Regions from separate parts of the Homo sapiens genome. Here all the other regions are linked to region 1. Evidence: promoter capture Hi-C in 16 types of primary human blood cells and fetal thymus (Javierre and others, 2016). All regions are on one chromosome and are shown on one strand. The core of a region is centred on a gene start or on the middle of the fragment in contact, and the rest is flanking DNA. Distances in the headings are between cores, read along the strand shown.

Region 1 (4,106 bases), core at 1,025-3,524:
CTCTAGCACCTAGGTGCAACTGTGGGATGCCTGATAGATTAGGATTGTATGTTGAATGGGAAATGGGTCTGAACCAAGTGTCAGACAGTAGAATGGGAGCCAGGGGAGGGTTCCAAAGCAGCAGCAGAAGGTATCTCTAGCAAGCATCCGCTCTGGCTGGGGACTGTCTTCTGGTTCCAGCCTTACTGGAAGCTCAGGCTGTAGAGTTGTGAATTCCTGGGGCCAGGCAAGCCTAGATGTGTTGCCTGCTTTTGATAATGTATCAAAAATATGAACTCATCCTTGGAAGCGACAGCTATGAGGTGTTTCTTGGATGTAGAAATTTAGGTCATCTGTCTTCCTTTTGCATTGCCTTAAAAAGTACGATTTCCTTTCTTGGTTTATCATTTGCTGGCCTTCTTTCTTTCCATCCTTCCTCCCTTCCTTCCTTCCTTCCTCCCTTTTTTCCTTCCCTAGACTTTCCCTATCTCCCTCTTTTCTTTCGTAAAATTTGGTTGCCTGGGATAACGTGTATTGCATACAAGCTGACTTCCTTACTGTCCCTAGTAAGCTATGTGTGGCTATTATTTCTTCATTTATATGCAATGCCAGAAGCTTAGAAGAATGTTATCTCCCTTTCAGTTAAAAACTCATAGTTAAGAACTGGCCATCTTCTTGTTTTGGGTATTGTGGCTTGGTACTGTCTAATATATTTGGAGGGTATTTGATTTTTTAAAAAGCTACTGGCCATGCCTATTGAGTTTCCTACTGAGCCCAGCACCCAGACCAGTGATTGATTAAATAGTAGCTGCTCAATAAATATTTGTTTTGTAAATAATGATTCTATTGTCAAGAAACAAATCACCAAGAAAGAAGGAGCTATATATTTAAGAGTACTCTGTTCATCTGGCCAAAATGGAGTTCCGAGTCCCTTGCTCAGCTGATGTTTGTTCACCCAGAAGATGGTAAACTCCTGAGACCAACTTCGCTTTGTTGTTCTCTTGTGGTTCCTTGACCTTGGAAATGTTTTTCTACAGGCAGAGTATTTCCCCCTGTTGGAATTTTATTTAATATTCTATCTTTGTTTCTACTTTAGAAAACATGCCACGTGAATAATGATGCCTCAGGCAAAAGAAATCACTCCAGCAGTACAATTTAAACTTAGGACAAATCCTGCCCTCACTTGCATTCACAATTTGCCAAGGCAGTTGGTAAGAACTGTGCCCACACACAAATTGACAGAATCGAGGCCCCAAGGTTAGCGATGATTAAAATTTAAAAGTCCATTCATTCATTTTCAAAATATTTTATTCGATTGCTTCTGAGGCAGAATCATGAGTTGCCTTCGCTTTTGCTGCTCCCGGTGGTGGCATCCAACTCTGAGGATAGCTCATCCAACTCTGAGGGTAGCTCTGAGGGGAGCTAAATATCCTCATTGTTCAATGAGCTAGATGAAAACAAAACGAGGCTGTAAGGTCAATCTCACAGCCTTAGTGGAGTAAAAATTAGAAGTCAATAATTCTCTTACCAACAAAGAGGACTTGCATTCAACAGGATTTTCAAAAGTGGTATCCTGTAAAAATTTTGGAAAATACCACCATAATGGAAAAAAAATAAAGTGGCATATAAATCAAATGTAGTGCTAAAAATTATAATTTTTCCATATGAATTTTGGAATCCTAAAATATTTTTATGTGTTTGTGGATTCATAAGGCATCAGAACTGGCTTTTTGCACTGAATATGAGTACAGAAGGCTTTCCTCTCCAATAGTGAATTAATAAAGGATAAGTAGGAAAAACGTTACGAAACGATGTGGTAACATTATAGACTCTGTATTAGGGCAAAAATTGTGAGATAGTAGAAGATCTGTAAATTTAAGCATGCACAATTTGACAGCGGATGGTCGTAGCATATTTTGTAAATTCAATAGCAAGCCCCACCACGCCCTTAAATGAAGGAAAGCAAGAAGACAATTTTTAATACGTACATGGCACCACACCCCTCTAAGACGCAGCAATGGGAGAAAAGCAGATTGGCGACCTGTGTGTGCAACATGAACCGAGTGAAACCATCGGGGAGGGGGTGGGGGGCGTTTCTTTTAAATGTCGCTTTTGCAGATAAACGAGCAGGGATCCTACCTCTTTTGACCGGAGATGTTGAAAAGCACGACCAAAGTTTTTGGCTTGGTCTCTTGCTTTCCACAACGAGATAAAGTCTGAAGCCTGTAACTCTCCCTGTCCCGCGGGAGCGTGCAAAGGGAGGGAAGATAAGCGGCGTGGGTGAGGGGTGGCGGCGCAGAACCCAGGAAGGGAGCAGAGGCGAGAGCCAGCCTCCGGCAGGAGGGCGTAGACCCCGGTGCCAGCCAGAACGGCTCCAGCCTTCCCGCGGCCAGAGAGCCAGCGGCGGGAGGGGACGGGCGGGACCTCCGCGGACAGCCCCGGGTGCGGACCAGCGGGCAGCGGCCGGCGAGACCCTCCCTGGATCCGCCCAGAGCTTACCGGACCCTGCGCGCCCCCGTCCCGGCTCCCGGCCGGCTCGGGGGAGAAGGCGCCCGAGGGGAGGCGCCGGACAGATCGCGTTTCGGAGGCGGCGCAGGTGTGTCAGGGGTGGGGGTCCGCTGGCATCTCTCGTGCCGGCGCTGGGGGGGTCTCCCGTGGAGGAAGGGCTGAAGGTGCTCCGGGAGGGGTCCACTCGTTATGGAAAGGAAGCGGGGCGCGGTCAGGGTCCCTCGTCCGCAGTGGGGGTGGTCCGGGCCCCTCAGCCTGCACCCGGGAGGAGACGCCCCCTTTTCACGCCCCGCCCCCGGTGGCCGAGGCCGGATTCGGACAGCTCGGGGTCAGTCGACGGAGCACACCGGGCGCCCGAATCCGCCGGGTCCCACTCACGCCCGCCGGCCGCCGGTAGGTTGGCCCTCCCGCTTCCAGCCTCCGCCACCCCATCCCTCGCTGCTCTCTGAGGAGGATTCCAGACCCCCCCGTAGATCTCCGCCCTCTCTCGGGTGGGGCTCCGAGGTCTAGCTGGTCTGGGGGTCAGTCCCGGCCTCTGTCTCCCACCGCGCCCCTCGCTCCCCTGGACACCGCCTGGTGTGTGGGGCTCAGACCCCCCCAGTCCACTGCCCCTGTGTGGCTCCTCCTCTCAGGAGAGGATTCTAGATCCCAGCCCGGGGGGGGTTCCGAAAATGCCGCCAGCCTGGAGCGGGGAATCCATGGACCGTGGGGTTGTGGGGTTGGGGAGCACGAAAACCCAGAGAGGGGCTAGAGCTCCACCTCCCCAGACCGCCGAGGGGCGAGAGGGCGCGCCGGGGGCCGTGGTTGCCATGGCTCCTGGTAGCGGAGCCCGGGGGGCTGGAGATGCCGGTCGCGGATGGTCCCTTCTTCCTCTTTGTGCCTCTCTCTTTCTCTCGCTTTTTTTTTTTTTTTGGAGTGTGAGTGTGCGTGGGGAGGCAGCACGGAGAAAGTGATTAATTTGGGGAGCAGGGATTGGAGCCGGGAGGCTGGGGAAAGCCAGCCCCTCCGTTCCCACTCTCCGGGCTCGCTGCGAGCCACAGTGTCTCAGCCAGGGGCAGGGCCGGGGAACTCCTGCGAAAAACCACGGGCCGGAGGAGCAGCAGCCGCGCGGGCCCAGGTACCCCCGCCCCAGACGGCCAGCAGGGTGGAGCGCAGGGTGGGCGTTTGGGCTGCTGGGCGGGAAGGCGGGCGGGGAAGGGGTGGGAGGCCGGCGGCGGAGGGCAGGTGTGCGTCGGCAGGGCTGGGTGGCCCGGCAGAGAGGGCGCCCCAGGTTCAGCCCCTCCTCGAAGGGCGCCGGCGTCCAGTCCCGCTCGTGGGAGCCGCGGAGCAGCCCCAGGGCCGGCGAGCGGCTGCCCTGCCAGGCGCGTGCGCGAGGGCGCGCTCCCGCGGGAACGCGCCGTGCGCGGGGAGATTTGCGCGTGCGCGTGGCGATGGTAACTGGTGGGCCCCCCGGGCTCGCTCTAGGCGGAGGCTCCCGGGACGCCCACGTGGCTTCGAATTCCAGCTCCACCATCACTGTGATGCGTCACTCTGGACTAGGCATTTAACTACGTGCCTCAGTTTCCCTTTCTCAATAATACGGAGATTATCGATACCCTCTATACTGGGTTGTTGCAAGA
Region 2 (4,136 bases), core at 1-2,500, 43 kb after region 1:
CATTTTTTGTCAACATATGTGTATTAAGCAACCAATATTTGGCAATCTGACAGCAATTGTGCTTGAGTACTAGGAAGGCAAAAATTAATAAGATCATTTTTCCCCGACCTGGACTTAAGGAACTCAAAATCTTGCATAAAACATTGTAAAGAAACCCTTTTCTGGCCAGGTACAGTGGCTCACGCCTATAATCCCAGCACTTTGGGAGGCCGAGGTGGGTGGATCACCTGAGGTCAGGAGTTCGAGACCAGCCTAGCTAACATGGTGAAACCCCGTCTCTACTAAAAATACAAAAAAAAAAAAAATAGCTGGATGTGGTGGCGGGTGTCTGTAATCCCAGCTACTCAGGAGGCTGAGGCAGGAGAATTGCTTGAACCCAGGAAGCAGAGGTTGCAGTGAGCCAAAATCGCGCCATTGCACTCCAGCCTGGGTGACAAGAGCAAGACTTCTAAAACAACAAACAAACAAAACAAAACAAAAAATCTTTTTTTTTTGTCTTGTGAGAATAAGGCATGTAGCTGCTCACACATGTAGCTTATATAGCAGCTGTCAAGGTTCATATGCTACCACGTGGGGTACTGTGTGATTTCCTCCTGATGGCTGAGTTGAGTGGGGACTGTCAAGTAGGGGGAACCCGGAGACTGATCTCAAGTGTCCCTCCCGGCTTCACTGGACATCATCAATCAGAACAGTGATGTGGCTGCTGCTACCGCAGCTGCCCCTTGCTTATCACAGAGCACCGGCTAGATCTCAGCCTAGTGCTAAGCAATTTTTGCATGTTAGTACCATTCCTCCAAGCCATTCTGCAAAACAGATACTATTATCCCTTATTTACCAATGAGACAACTAGAGTTCTAAAAGGCTACTTGATTAGCTTACGATCGCACAACAAGTAAGTGCACACTTGCTCCGTTTTCAGTCTGTCTGTCCCTTTTTTCTCTGCTGCAGCATCTCTTTTGACAGACACTGTGGTGGTAATGTGCTCCCTCCTGCTCCATGAAGCTATGACATTCATACTTGTGACTGTAAGGTGAAGGAACTATGAATACTACTATTAATTGATATGTGTAGCTTTAATGCATTCATTCTTTAATTCATCTAAACAGTATATATATAAAATATATATATTTTAAAATTATTTTTTCATAGGCTTTTGGGAAACGGGTGGTATTTGGTTGCGTAAGTTCTTTTATGCTGATTTGTGAGATTTTGGTGCACTCATTACCCAAGCAGTATACAATGAACCCAATTTGTAGTCTTTTATCCCTCACCCCACTCCCACCCTTTCCCCCAAGTCCCCAAAGTCATTCTTATGCCTTTGCATCCTCATAGCTTAGCTCCCACTTAAGAGTGAGAACATAGGATTTTTGGTTTTCCATTCCTCAGTTACTTCACTTAGAATAATCGTCTCCAGCTCCATCCAGGGTGCTGTGAATGCGGTTAATTTCCTCCTTTCATGGCTGAGTAGTATTCCATCATATATATTTACCACAATTTCTTTATCCACTTGTTGATTGATGGACATTTGGGCTGGTTCCACATTTTTGCGATTGCGAATTGTGCTGCTATAAACATGCATGTGCAAGTACCTTTTCTGTGTAATGACTTCTTTTCCTCTGGGTAGATACCCAGTAGTGGGATTGCTGAATCAAATGGTAGAGCTACTTTTAGTTCTGTAAGGAATCTCCGTACTGTTTTCCATAGTGGTTGTGCTAGTTGACATTCTCACCAGCAGTGTAGAAGTGCTCCCTTTCCATTGCATCCACACCAACATCCACTATTTTTTAAATTTTTTTCATTATGGCCATTCTTGCAGGAGTCAGGTGGTACAGAGATGTAGTTTTGATTTGCATTTCCCTGATCATTAGTGATGTTGAGCATTTTTTTTCTTATGTTTGTTGGCCATATGTATATCTTCTTTTGAGAATTGTCTATTCATGTCCTTAGCCCACTTTATGATGGGATTTTTTGTTTTTTTCTTGCTAATTTGTTTGAGTTCCTTGTAGATTCTGGATGTCAGTCCTTTGTTGGATGTATAGATTGTGAAGATTTTCTCCCACTCTGTGGGTTGTCTATTTATTCTGCTGACTGTTCATTTTGCTGAGCAGAAGCTCTTTAATTAAGTCCCACCTATTTATCTTTGTTTTTGTTGCATTTGCTTTTGAATTCTTGGTCTTGAAGCCTTTGCCTAAGCCAATGTCTAGAAGAGTTTTTCTGACGTTATCTTCTAGAATTTTTATAGGTATCGGGTCTTATATTTAAGTCCATGATCCCTCTTGAGTTGATTTTTGTATAAGGTAGGAGATGAGGATCCAGTTTCATTCTCCTACATGTGGCTTGCGAATTATCGCAGCATCATTTGTTAAATAGGGTGTTCTTTCCCCCACTTTATGTTTTTGTTTGCTTTGTAGAAGATCAGTTGGCTGTAAGTATTTGGGTTTATTTCTGGGTTCTCTATTCTGTTCCATTGGTCTATGTGCCTAGTTTTATACAAGTACCATGCTGTTTTGGTGATTATGGCCTTATCCAAAGAGTATATATTATGTTTTATTATGGTGCCAGGCAGTGACATTGGTACAACTAATATATGCCCTTATGGAACTCAAGATTTCTTATGTTAAATACAGAATAAAGGAAGTAGGAATATTTATAGCTGTTAGGCCTTTAGTTAATTTTGTCTAGATGGAGTTTCAAATTACTTATGATTTGTTGTCAGTTCAGTGCATAAGGAGAAATTTATCTTATAAATAGCTTAGAAAGGAGTCATGTCATAAAATGACATGTCTCAAAATGTCTTGTGAAGCCAAGTTTTCTTCCAGCATGGCAAGCAATCACCATTTCTCTTGCTGAGCATCTAATGAAGTCATAGGTTTGATGTAGAGGGTATGTTGTGTGAAAAGTACTACTTTGAAATATTAGATAACTTCAGAGTCACAACATGCTCATATTCAGAAAACAAGTGACCCTGACTTCCGCTGATCCGCAGCTCTCATATTACACCAGCCATGGGTAGGTTGTTTGCTGAGTGTACCCTCATAACCCAGTTTTTACTGTATCTTGCTCTTCAGCAAGTGCTGTTTCTCCTTCCAGTATACTTCTCTCTGGTTTTTTTTTTTACTTTGCCTCAAGTCAGTAGAGTTTAATTTAACTAGTTTTTTTGTGCATATACTATATTTTCTTTCAGTCATACTTTTTAAATCTTAGTTACAAAGCACACAACCAATAAGGACCCAAATGTTGTTTCGCCTTAAATTACTTTCTTTTTAATATTTTCTTTTTAATATTCCTCTCCATTCTTGTTTTACATTTGGTGGGTATATTTATTTGTATCTCTTAAGTAAAAGAAACTAAGGGACTTTGAAAAAAAAACAACTTTTCACTAATAACAGAGAATAAGTAAGACGTTAGTATCTATGTCAATGGTGGTGAGGGAAAGGGTAAATGCTTTCTAGAGTAAATAAATTCAAAGGATTGTATGTCATGTTAATATAACAAAAACAAAATTAGAAAGACGTTTTCTTAGATTATAGTAGTGTATTGTGTATATACCCTTATCTAATAGTGTTTGAGTCTATCCCTCCACTATATGTATATCCTAAATTGTACAGAGACACTAGTATGCTAAAATTTATCATAAGAAAAGATTAAAAGGAGAGAAATGTTTAAAAATGAGATGAAAAACCATAAGTACATGTGTGTGTATGTATATATATATGTGTGTGTATATATTTCCATATTTCTTGTTTCATTCTAAAGGATGGTCTGTGCATCTCTTTCCAGAGATCATGCACCTACAACATGAAGGAATGAAAGAAAACCTAATAATACAGAGACTGGCTGAGCGCGGTGGCTCACGCCTGTAATCCCAGCACTTTGGGAGGCTGAGGGGGGCAGATCACGAGGTCAGGAGATCGAGACCATCCTGGCTAACACGGTGAAACCCCGTCTCTACTAAAAATACAAAAAATTATCCCGGCGTGGTGGTGGGCGCCTGTAGTCCCAGCTACCTGGGAGGCTGAGGCAGGAGAATGGCTTGAACCAGGGAGGCAGAGCTTGCAGTGAGCCGAGATTGTGCCACTGCACTCCAGCCTGGGTAACAGAGTGGGACTCCATCTCAAAATAAATAAATAAAATAA
Region 3 (4,464 bases), core at 1,303-3,802, 60 kb after region 1:
GCTGGGATACAGGGAGCTTGTGATGAGATGATTGTCAGGGCAGCAGACATCAGACTATGCAGGGCCTTATAAGCCACGTATCTTGGTGCTTTTGTGCTGCTATAATAGAATACCACAGACTGGATACCTTGTGGATAGTAGAAATTTATGTCTCACAGTTCTGGAGGTTGGAAAGTCCAAGATCAAGGCATCAGCATCTGGTGAGGGCCTTCTCGATGCTTCCTTCAGAGTGGAGGTAGCCATGCCTCACATATTGGAAAGTGGAAAGGCAAGCTAGCTAAATCCTGCATGAAGCCTCTTCTAAGGCCTTTCTGAGGGCCTTAATCCCATTCATGAGGGAGGAGCCCTTCTGACCTAATCACCTCTTAAAGGCCCACCAGTTAATACTATCACATTGACCATTAAGTCTCAACACTTGAATTTGGGAAGGGATGCATTCAAACCCTACCATCATGCAAAGAAGCCAAAGTTATATTTCCTATTGTCCCTACCCTTTCCTCAGATACCAGGATTTGCCTATCTCCATCTCTAGCTACAATTGTTCTGAATTTTGGGGCCCGTTTTTGCTGCATGAATTTGTATTTGAATTCAAGACTTGAAAGATTAATTTTCCTTTCAGAATGTTATTCATATACCCCTTCATTCTTAACCTGCTCACTGGTTTCCTACCATAATTACAGTCTCAAACAGTGGTTGCATTCTGGCAAAACGATGTTTTGAGTTAGAGTTGTTATGCAGTTAGTCAGTTGTTTGTAGTTAAAAAGTCTCTTTCTTATTCACTGAAATGACTGGAGTCCCAGCTGCTAGGATTCAAAGGCAACAGGGAAGACTTCCTAGAGTTTCATGTGATCATAAAAACCTTTCCAGACGTTTTAAGTGATTATGATTTCTATGCTGCATTGACTTACAATTAGAGATCATTCAAGTAACTTAGAATTCAGTAACTTCTAGGTCACAGAGAGGCTCAGATACACACTGTTGACAGCCTTTTGGTGTCTTTGTATGTGTGTGTGTGTGTATACATACATACACACTAAACTGTACTGCTGTATGTGTGGGAAAAAGTCTAAATACTAAGCATTTTTATTCTATTTTGGGCAAGTATCTGTGCTCAATGGATGCAAGTTGGTATCTAAAATCTAAAAAATGCAAAGATAAATGGATCATCTGTGTACTTCAAGCTTTATTTTCTTGCATAGTTTTTTCCTAGTATTTCCTGACAACCTAGAACAGTAGTTCTCGCCTTTGACTGCCTATTGCCATTGCCCGTAGCATATTTTAGATCTAAGGATCCCTGGACAGATACTCTAACTCAGTGGATGGAGCCCAGGTAGCTGTTTTGTTTGTCGTGGTAGTTGCTCTTTTTAATGTCTACCCATTGTCCTGTAAGACAACTAGGGTTGTGAACCATCGGTTTTTTACACTATCTAAAAGGAAGGTGTCTGTGGATTGAGGATATTTCTTACCTTGCCTACTTCCACACTTTCAACTTTCTAAAATTCCTGGGATTCATGCTCCCATTCCCCAAAGAATAGTGAGTTACCTATAATTATCTACAGCATCTATCAATAATGCCTTTAGTTCCTCACTTTGAGTTCTGCTTAGAGCTAAACATATTCTAAGCGAAGTAAGGAGGTTTCATGCTTCTGTGTATGCATAAGTGTGCCTGACAAAGAGATGAAACATGAAAGTGAAACAATACTGATAAATGAAATTTAAAAATATAGTATGACTTTGATAGGTAGTCTGTATTCTGGCACTTCATGAAATCTCCAAATTATTGTATATTACCATAGCATGCAATTTTTACTTATAGCATGGTAAAGCAGAGCTCCTCCTTTTGAGTGATGTACAGCTATTGCACCACTCTAAGTGGTAACTTAACACAGAATAAATATGAATAGAATTATCTAGAGTTGTACAACTCAGTACCTTTGGTTTGGACCAGAGAAAAAGGCCTTAGAGTAGTGGTTTTCAACCAGGAGTGATTTCGCCCTTCAGGAGCATTTGGTAACATTTGGAAATATTTTTAGCTGTTAACGCTAATGAGGGAGAGACTTGCACCTGGTCAGTAGAGGCCAAAGATGCTGCTACATGTTCTGCAACACTCAGGACAACTGAATGCCCAAAAAGAATTATCTTGCCCCAAATGGAATCATGCTGAGGTTGAGAAACTCTGGCTTAGAGAATTGTATTAGTCATCCTGGCCCATAAAATTCCCATGAAAATTTGGGAACGAGGGGAGGATTCATATGTATCTTTTTGGTATTGTATTTCTGGCGCCTGGGAGCTTGCTCAGCATGCAGTAGTTGCTAAATATGTTTTTGGATGACTGAGTGATGGCATGATTTGAATCAGACAACATTATTTTACCAGCCTTGGAATCTGGGCAAAAGTGGGCTGCTTAGGAGCAAAGACACGAGTCTGTGTATTTCTGTGGTTGCCTTTCCATGGAAATTCCCATTCAAGGGGATACCTAATATGTAAGGATTAAAGATGCCTCCTCCATGGATTTTCCATGGTGTCTCACATTCTCTAATTAGTTATTCCTTAAAGTTTTGTCCACCTGTGTATCTTTAGTGGTATGGCTTCATGTCACCTCAAATATGGAGGCATTAGCTTTGTTTAGTTCAGTATATACCAGATTATGGGATGGAAAATACTGAAGGGATATCAAATGATCATACGTAATCTAAGATATAATTAAATAATAAACTTACATAAAGCATTTAAAAAAAATTTAGTTCTCTTTCCCTTAATTCTTTCAATATTTCAGGTAGAGTCAAAGGCTGGTTTTGTGCTATCATGATTTTATAACTAATTTTTAACACCATCTCCTTTTCTTCTTTTCTTCTTCTTTTTTTTTTTTTTTTGTGAGACAGAGTCTCTCTCTGTAGTCCAGGCTGGAGTGCAGTGGCACCACCTCGGCTCACTGCAACCTCCGCCTCCCGGGTTCAAGCAATTCCCCTGCCTCAGCCTCCCAAGTAGCTGGGATTACAGGTGCCTGCCACCATGCCTGGCTAATTTTGCATTTTTAGTAGAGATGGGGTTTCACCATGCTGACCAGGCTGGTCTCAAATTCCTAACCTCAGGTGATCTACTGCCTCGGCCTCCCTAAGTGCTGGGATTACAAGTGTGAGCCACTGTGCCTGGCTCTCTTTTTCATAAAGAGACAGCAAACCTCAAAATCAGAGATTCAGCTTGCCACAGGTCTATTTAAAATTGTTTTTATTTCAATTCATGTATTTTTTATGTAAAGTAGTGTTGATTTCCTGTTTATAGCAGTGGAGAACATATTAAGATATTTTAATTTAAATAGAAAAGTAAGCCAATTACAAATAAGTGCAAGTAGCGTACAGATATGAAAAAAATCATAATCATGTCACTTAAATAGGCGAAGAAATCATTGAATTTATTTGTTTTGTTAACATTGTCTCATCTTGAAGGAGAAGATGGAATCTGGAGATTGCAGCTTGAATGGCTCCGGAAGAGGCAGCATGTTCGGTGGATTGGATGTGTTTGCATAACTGTGGGACCACATGGGAGGTGACGCAGGAAGGCTGAAAGAGGACAGTCTCCAAAGGAGGGAGCAAACCTTGAAAACACCTGCAGGGCCCTTTTAATGGCCAACTGCATCAATTTAAAACGTTCACTTGCTCCCCCATGGCTGTCTGTCCAGGCAGAAGCAACATGACCTCTGGTTTGAAAGGCCTCTCAGATTAAGAGAGAATATTGTGTCTTGGGGAAATCAATCATATTATTATGAATCATAGAATTATGAGTCATGTGTTATAGGTTGTTTCAGGCAACAAGACCTCAGATGTCCTTCACTTCAACCACTCTTGGGATACTGAAGGGTATTGCCATTGCAATCTGTGGCCAACATCTACTTCCACATCTCTCCCTCTTGGGGCTTTCAAGTCCAAGCTTGGAGTCATGTTTGTAGGAGCCTCAAATCTCTCTCTCAAGAATTTTCATTTGTTTTCCCCAGTTCTCCCCTGTGGAACCATGGAAATTAAAATCGAAACCCTGTTCTATTACTTTCACATGTTTGAAGATAGATTTCATGTCTTACTTGAGCCATTTTTTTCTTCAAGAAAACATTTCCAGCTCCTTCAACTTTTCCGTCCATGAGATAATGTCAGTCCCTTTTTCCATCTTCGGACCTTGCCTCTGAATAAGCTCAGCTTGTCTGAATCAGTTTTAAATAGAAGCATTTACACTTGGATACAATTTTCCAGGTGTTGCTTCAGTGGGACAAACGAAAGTGAGACAATTGCATCTCTTGTTCTAGATATCATACTTCTTTATCCATACCCTAAGGTTACTAACTTTTTGGCAATTTCATCACATTGTTATTAACTAAGTCCCCTTTTTTTTTTTATAAAGAAGGTACTACAATTATCACACACCTTTATTTTAAACGTATGGCAACATCTTTTTTTTTTTTTTTTTCTGAGACAT
Region 4 (4,576 bases), core at 1,935-4,434, 43 kb before region 1:
TTTGGTTTTCTGTTCCTGTGTTTGTTTGCTGAGTATAATGGCTTCCAGCTCTATCTATGTCCCTGCAAAGGACAAGATCTCATTCCTTTTTATGGCTGCATAATATTCCATTGTGTATATGTACCACATTTTCTTTATCCAGTCTATCACTGATGGGCATTTCGGTTGATTCCATGTCATTGCTATTGTGAATGGTGCTGCAGTGAACATATGCTTGCATGTATCTTTATAACAGAATGATTTATATTCCTTTGGTTGTATGCCCAGTAATGGGATTGCTGGATTGAATGGTATTTCTGTCTTTAGGTTTTTGAGGAGTCACCACACTGTCTTCCACAATGGTTGAACTAATTCACATTCTGACACAACAGTGTAAAAGTGTTCCTTTTTCTCTGCAACCTCGCCAGCATCTGTTGTTTTCTGACTTTTTAATAATTGCCATTGTGACTGGCGACTTCACTAGATTCTATACACAAATCATCTCATTTGTTTTCATAAGAACCTTAAAGAAAAGGCATTATTAGTATTTCTAGTTTAAGAAACTGATGGTCAGAGAACACAAGTAACTCAAGGTCATACGACTAGAGTGTAAGGAAACTGCAATTAAAGCCAAGCCTTTTCACTGTGCCTTGCTGCTGCCTAATTCATTGGTTGAAATAAACCAAAACAAAAATAAAAATTTGGATTTAATTTTTTAAAAACCAGGACTGGGCCCAGTGGCGTACATCTGTAATCCCAGTGTTTTGGGAGGCTGAGGAAGGTGGATCGCCTGAGCTCAGGAGGGCGAAGTGACAGTGAGCCATGATGGCAACACCACCCTCCAGCCTCAGTGACAGAGTAAGACCTTTTCTCTCAAAAACAGCAACAGCAGTTATTAATATTTAATGTTATTAAAGTGTTTCTCTTTGGCAAACATGGTTCTAGGCCTCAGACAGCCATTGGCATATCACAGTCACGGGATGGCACATCATATATTTGGATTTGGATGGTTTACCTCTCATTAGTACCATCCCACCCCTATGCCTCACCACGTCTTATCTGCAGTAGACTCAACTTTCCCAGTACTTCAACCACTTTCACCATTTCATGTAGAATGTTTTCTTTTCTACTTTTTTTTTCTTTATTGGGGGAGGGGATGGGGTTTACTTTGTCACCCAGCTTGGAGTGCAGTGGTGCCATCACTGCTCACTGCAGCCTTAACCTCCCAGGCTCAAGCAATCCTCTTGCCTCAGCCTCAGCTGGGTCTACAGGCATGCACCTGGCTACTTAAAAAAAAAAAAAGGTAGGCTGGTCTTGAACTACTGGCCTCAAGCATTTCTCCCACCTTGGCCTCCCAAAGTACTGGGATTACAGGCATGAACCACCACAATCAGTCTACGATGTTTTCTTGAATTGCTTTTGCTTTCATTTTGGCTTCTTCTCAGTATTTCTGTAACTTTTACTTTTTATATCTCTTTAACAATGTGGTATCTTAACCAAAACATAAAATTGAAATACTATATGCAAAACTGATAAAAATAAAAGAACTTGATAATATTGGCTGGGCATGGTGGCTCACCCCTGTAATCCCAGCTACTCAGGAGGCTGAGGCAGGAGAGTCACTTGAACCCGGGAGGCGGAGATTGCAGTGAGCCGAGATTGCGCCACCGCACTCCAGCCTAGGTGACAGAGTGAGACTCCATCTAAACAAAAAACAAAACAGAACAAACAAACCCCCCCCCCCAAAAAAAAGAACTTGTCAATATCACAATGAATATTATTTTCCTTTTAGAAACTGACATATCTAATTGACAATATAACTGAGTGAGGAAAGTGAATATGAATAATAGGATTAATATGCTTCATACAACTAATATGTATAACTTAATTGTTTTTAACTCTAAAAAGCAATAAATAATATATTCTAAAACACATTTTAAACTGACAAAAGGTGATCTTTATTAGGACAAAAATAAAAATCTCAATATAGTCTCCAAAAGAGAAATGATATAGACTTAAAATTGAATAAAGTGGTAATAAAGTTAGACAATTAAAAACTGAAGAATCATCAAATATCATGCCTTGAAAGATTATAATAAACACACACTTCTAAATAAGTCTTGAAAAAATGAAACACATTTATATGTGTGTGTGTGTGTTTATATAAACGAAGTTTCTAATTATTTGGAAATGTAAAGTATTAAGAGCACTACAACACCCCTTGTAGAAAGAAGCCAAGGTTGCATCAAGAAAAACATTTATAATGTTAAGAGCAAACACAGATAAGAGAAAAAATTTAAAAATAACATAAGTATAAAGTAACTTTAGAAAGGTAGGAGTGCAACAAAAGAAAATGAACCGAGTGGGTGCATTAATAAAGGTAAAAGTGTAGATTAATCACACTATATAAAATGGAATGCCCCCACAAGAATATGAGACACCATCTGCCATCGATAAGGACAAAGTATGTCCCTTCAGGGTCTAAATTTGCTGGAGCCTTTGGTCACATTTTTGTTAGATCCCAGGATATTGTTGTTCTATATGTTGTAAACAGAAACAACCATAGTGAATCTTCAATTGGTATTTTTTTTTGTCGTATTTTAACACCAACATACGGGGAAAGCTTAGAAACAAGTGTCCTGTCTGTTAATGAATTTTAAACCTCAGGGATTTCAGTTGTTAAAGACCTTCCTTTATTATCAGCCATGAAAATTAGTATTCAGAAAGAATTTTGAAAACCAATTATTCTTAAGTTTGATAATCATGAATTGGGGGATGAATTTTTAACAATCATTGTCCCAAAGATATTACCACAAATACATTGGTGCTATTAAATACTTTTATGTATCTATTTCCCTTCTCAAAAGGCCTTCCTTTAAGCCACTTTTCCTACAGAGACATTTCACTTTAACATGAAAGTCATAGTGTGTCTCCTCTAGAATATTCGCAGATGATTGTCTTCATTTATCAGGAACACATATTTAAACAGTTTGCACTATTTCAGTTTTCCTTGTGAAGCAGAAGTATTCATCATACCAGTTGAGGCTTATATTACCCTGTAGCAAAGCGATTTATCATATCCCTACATCAGCAACTTCTTTGATTATTAAAATTCTCTTGCAGAGGTACACTTAGTTGCACACAAGCTGCTGTCTAATGAATTTTCTTTATTATTTGACCTGAAGTTCAGGGAATCTGCATATTAAGACATATTATTCAAAAGCAGTGATAGAGCATGCAGAACCAGATTAATTAAACTCATAGCTGGAAATACTTTAGCAGAATTTAATACTTGGCATATGTAAGCGAACAACCCTCAGGAAATACCAGTGTGAATCATTTTTTCTCCTTTAGAAACAATTTTTATTTCCTAAATTTGGTCTGCTATAAAATGGTAATTTGTGAAGCTCCAGAATTATTGGTTCAATTTTGAATAGTAATTATAACTAAGGGTATGTGTAATTGACTCAAGTTACTAATGACCACCCTTTTCCTAATTATTCAATATTATTTCAGTTAATATTTATTAAGCATTCTTTTGTCAGCCTGACACTGTGCTGGTTTCTTTCAGAGATGTCAAAGAGGTTTACACATTTCTTCTGGCTTCAAGGAGTTTGTAATCTAACTGGAGAGGGAAGACTCATCCATTGAAACTATATGGGCATCTAATTTCTCCTCCATGTGATATCTCTAATAGCCAGCCAGGTTTAGATTTATTATCCAAAAAACATGATTTCAGGTTTCCAAAGGTAGCCAAAAGGATCACACCTCAATGTTCAATTCTTTTCAAGCTTCTGCTTGCATCATGGTGGCTAACAACCTATTGGACAAGACAAGTGACACAGTCATGCCCAGATTTGAGGGGTAGAGAAATAAACTGCACCTCTTGATGATGGAATGGCAAAAGGTCCTGCATAAAGAGATAATGTATCCATCTTTGAGAGCCTCCCATTACAATTAAACCAGAATTTCTGGAGTGGAATAAGGACAGAGAATTTTTTAAAAAGCATTTTAGGTGACTCCAGTATGTAACCAATTTGAGGGCCAGCTGTTTTGACCAGTTCTTCTCAAACTCTGGTGTGCATCAGAATCACCTGGTAATCTTGTTAAACTACAGATTTGTGAACCCATCCCCAGGGACACTGATTCAACATCTGTGGAGTTAGGGACTGACACTTTGCAGCGCTAACAAGCTCCCAGGTGATGCTGATGCTACAGGTGCTTTATCTACATTTTGATTAGCATTAATTTAAACCACGGTGCAAAGTTAATTATATGTATGATATGTAATAAGTTTCTATTCATTTGGCTGAGTTCCTGTGAACAGTTTGTCAATTTTACAAGTTGGAAAAGTTAAATCTCCCACATCATACACAGGGACCAATCTTATCATATGACCAGGAAAATGGGGAGAAGTCCTTCATCAGCAGTTCAAAGTTAAGTATTTGAGCATCATAGGACACTTGATACTGTCCCTGCATTAATCTCCTGCCTTGTTTCTTGTAACTCACTTCCTGGGCTCCCGCTATGCATCTTTTTTCATCCTACTACTGCACTATGGCTGTTTTATTCTTGGTACACCCGATCCATCCCTCTG

What was found. The method cuts DNA at HindIII sites, captures the fragments that hold promoters and counts their contacts. A CHiCAGO score of 5 or more calls a contact.
Region 2: a fragment that was not itself captured here is called in contact with the fragment with the promoter of CHL1 in region 1 in 2 of 17 cell types (naive B cells and total B cells); the score reaches 11.3 in naive B cells.
Region 3: a fragment that was not itself captured here is called in contact with the fragment with the promoter of CHL1 in region 1 in 2 of 17 cell types (naive B cells and total B cells); the score reaches 11.7 in naive B cells.
Region 4: a contact is called between a fragment that was not itself captured here and the fragment with the promoter of CHL1 in region 1, in 2 of 17 cell types (total B cells and naive B cells). The highest score is 6.0, in total B cells.

What each region holds. Positions count from the first base shown.
Region 1 is chr3:194,489-198,594 of GRCh38, forward strand. CHL1 (cell adhesion molecule L1 like) reads left to right here and starts at 2,275. Exons shown (of 28, transcript NM_006614.4): 1 at 2,275-2,575. CHL1-AS2 (CHL1 antisense RNA 2) reads right to left here and starts at 2,853. Exons shown (of 4, transcript NR_144487.1): 1 at 2,479-2,853; 2 at 1,968-2,020; 3 at 1,508-1,552; 4 at 1,270-1,426. The HindIII fragment of the contact is 3,854 bases long and covers 593-4,106 here.
Region 2 is chr3:238,480-242,615 of GRCh38, forward strand. The region is part of intron 1 of CHL1 (cell adhesion molecule L1 like); the gene reads left to right. Among named protein-coding and RNA genes, the nearest start is that of CHL1-AS2, 43 kb to the left of the region's middle. The HindIII fragment of the contact is 8,450 bases long and covers 1-4,136 here.
Region 3 is chr3:254,497-258,960 of GRCh38, forward strand. The region is part of intron 2 of CHL1 (cell adhesion molecule L1 like); the gene reads left to right. Among named protein-coding and RNA genes, the nearest start is that of CHL1-AS2, 59 kb to the left of the region's middle. The HindIII fragment of the contact is 2,746 bases long and covers 1,180-3,925 here.
Region 4 is chr3:150,618-155,193 of GRCh38, forward strand. No RefSeq gene overlaps it. Among named protein-coding and RNA genes, the nearest start is that of CHL1, 44 kb to the right of the region's middle. The HindIII fragment of the contact is 1,168 bases long and covers 2,601-3,768 here.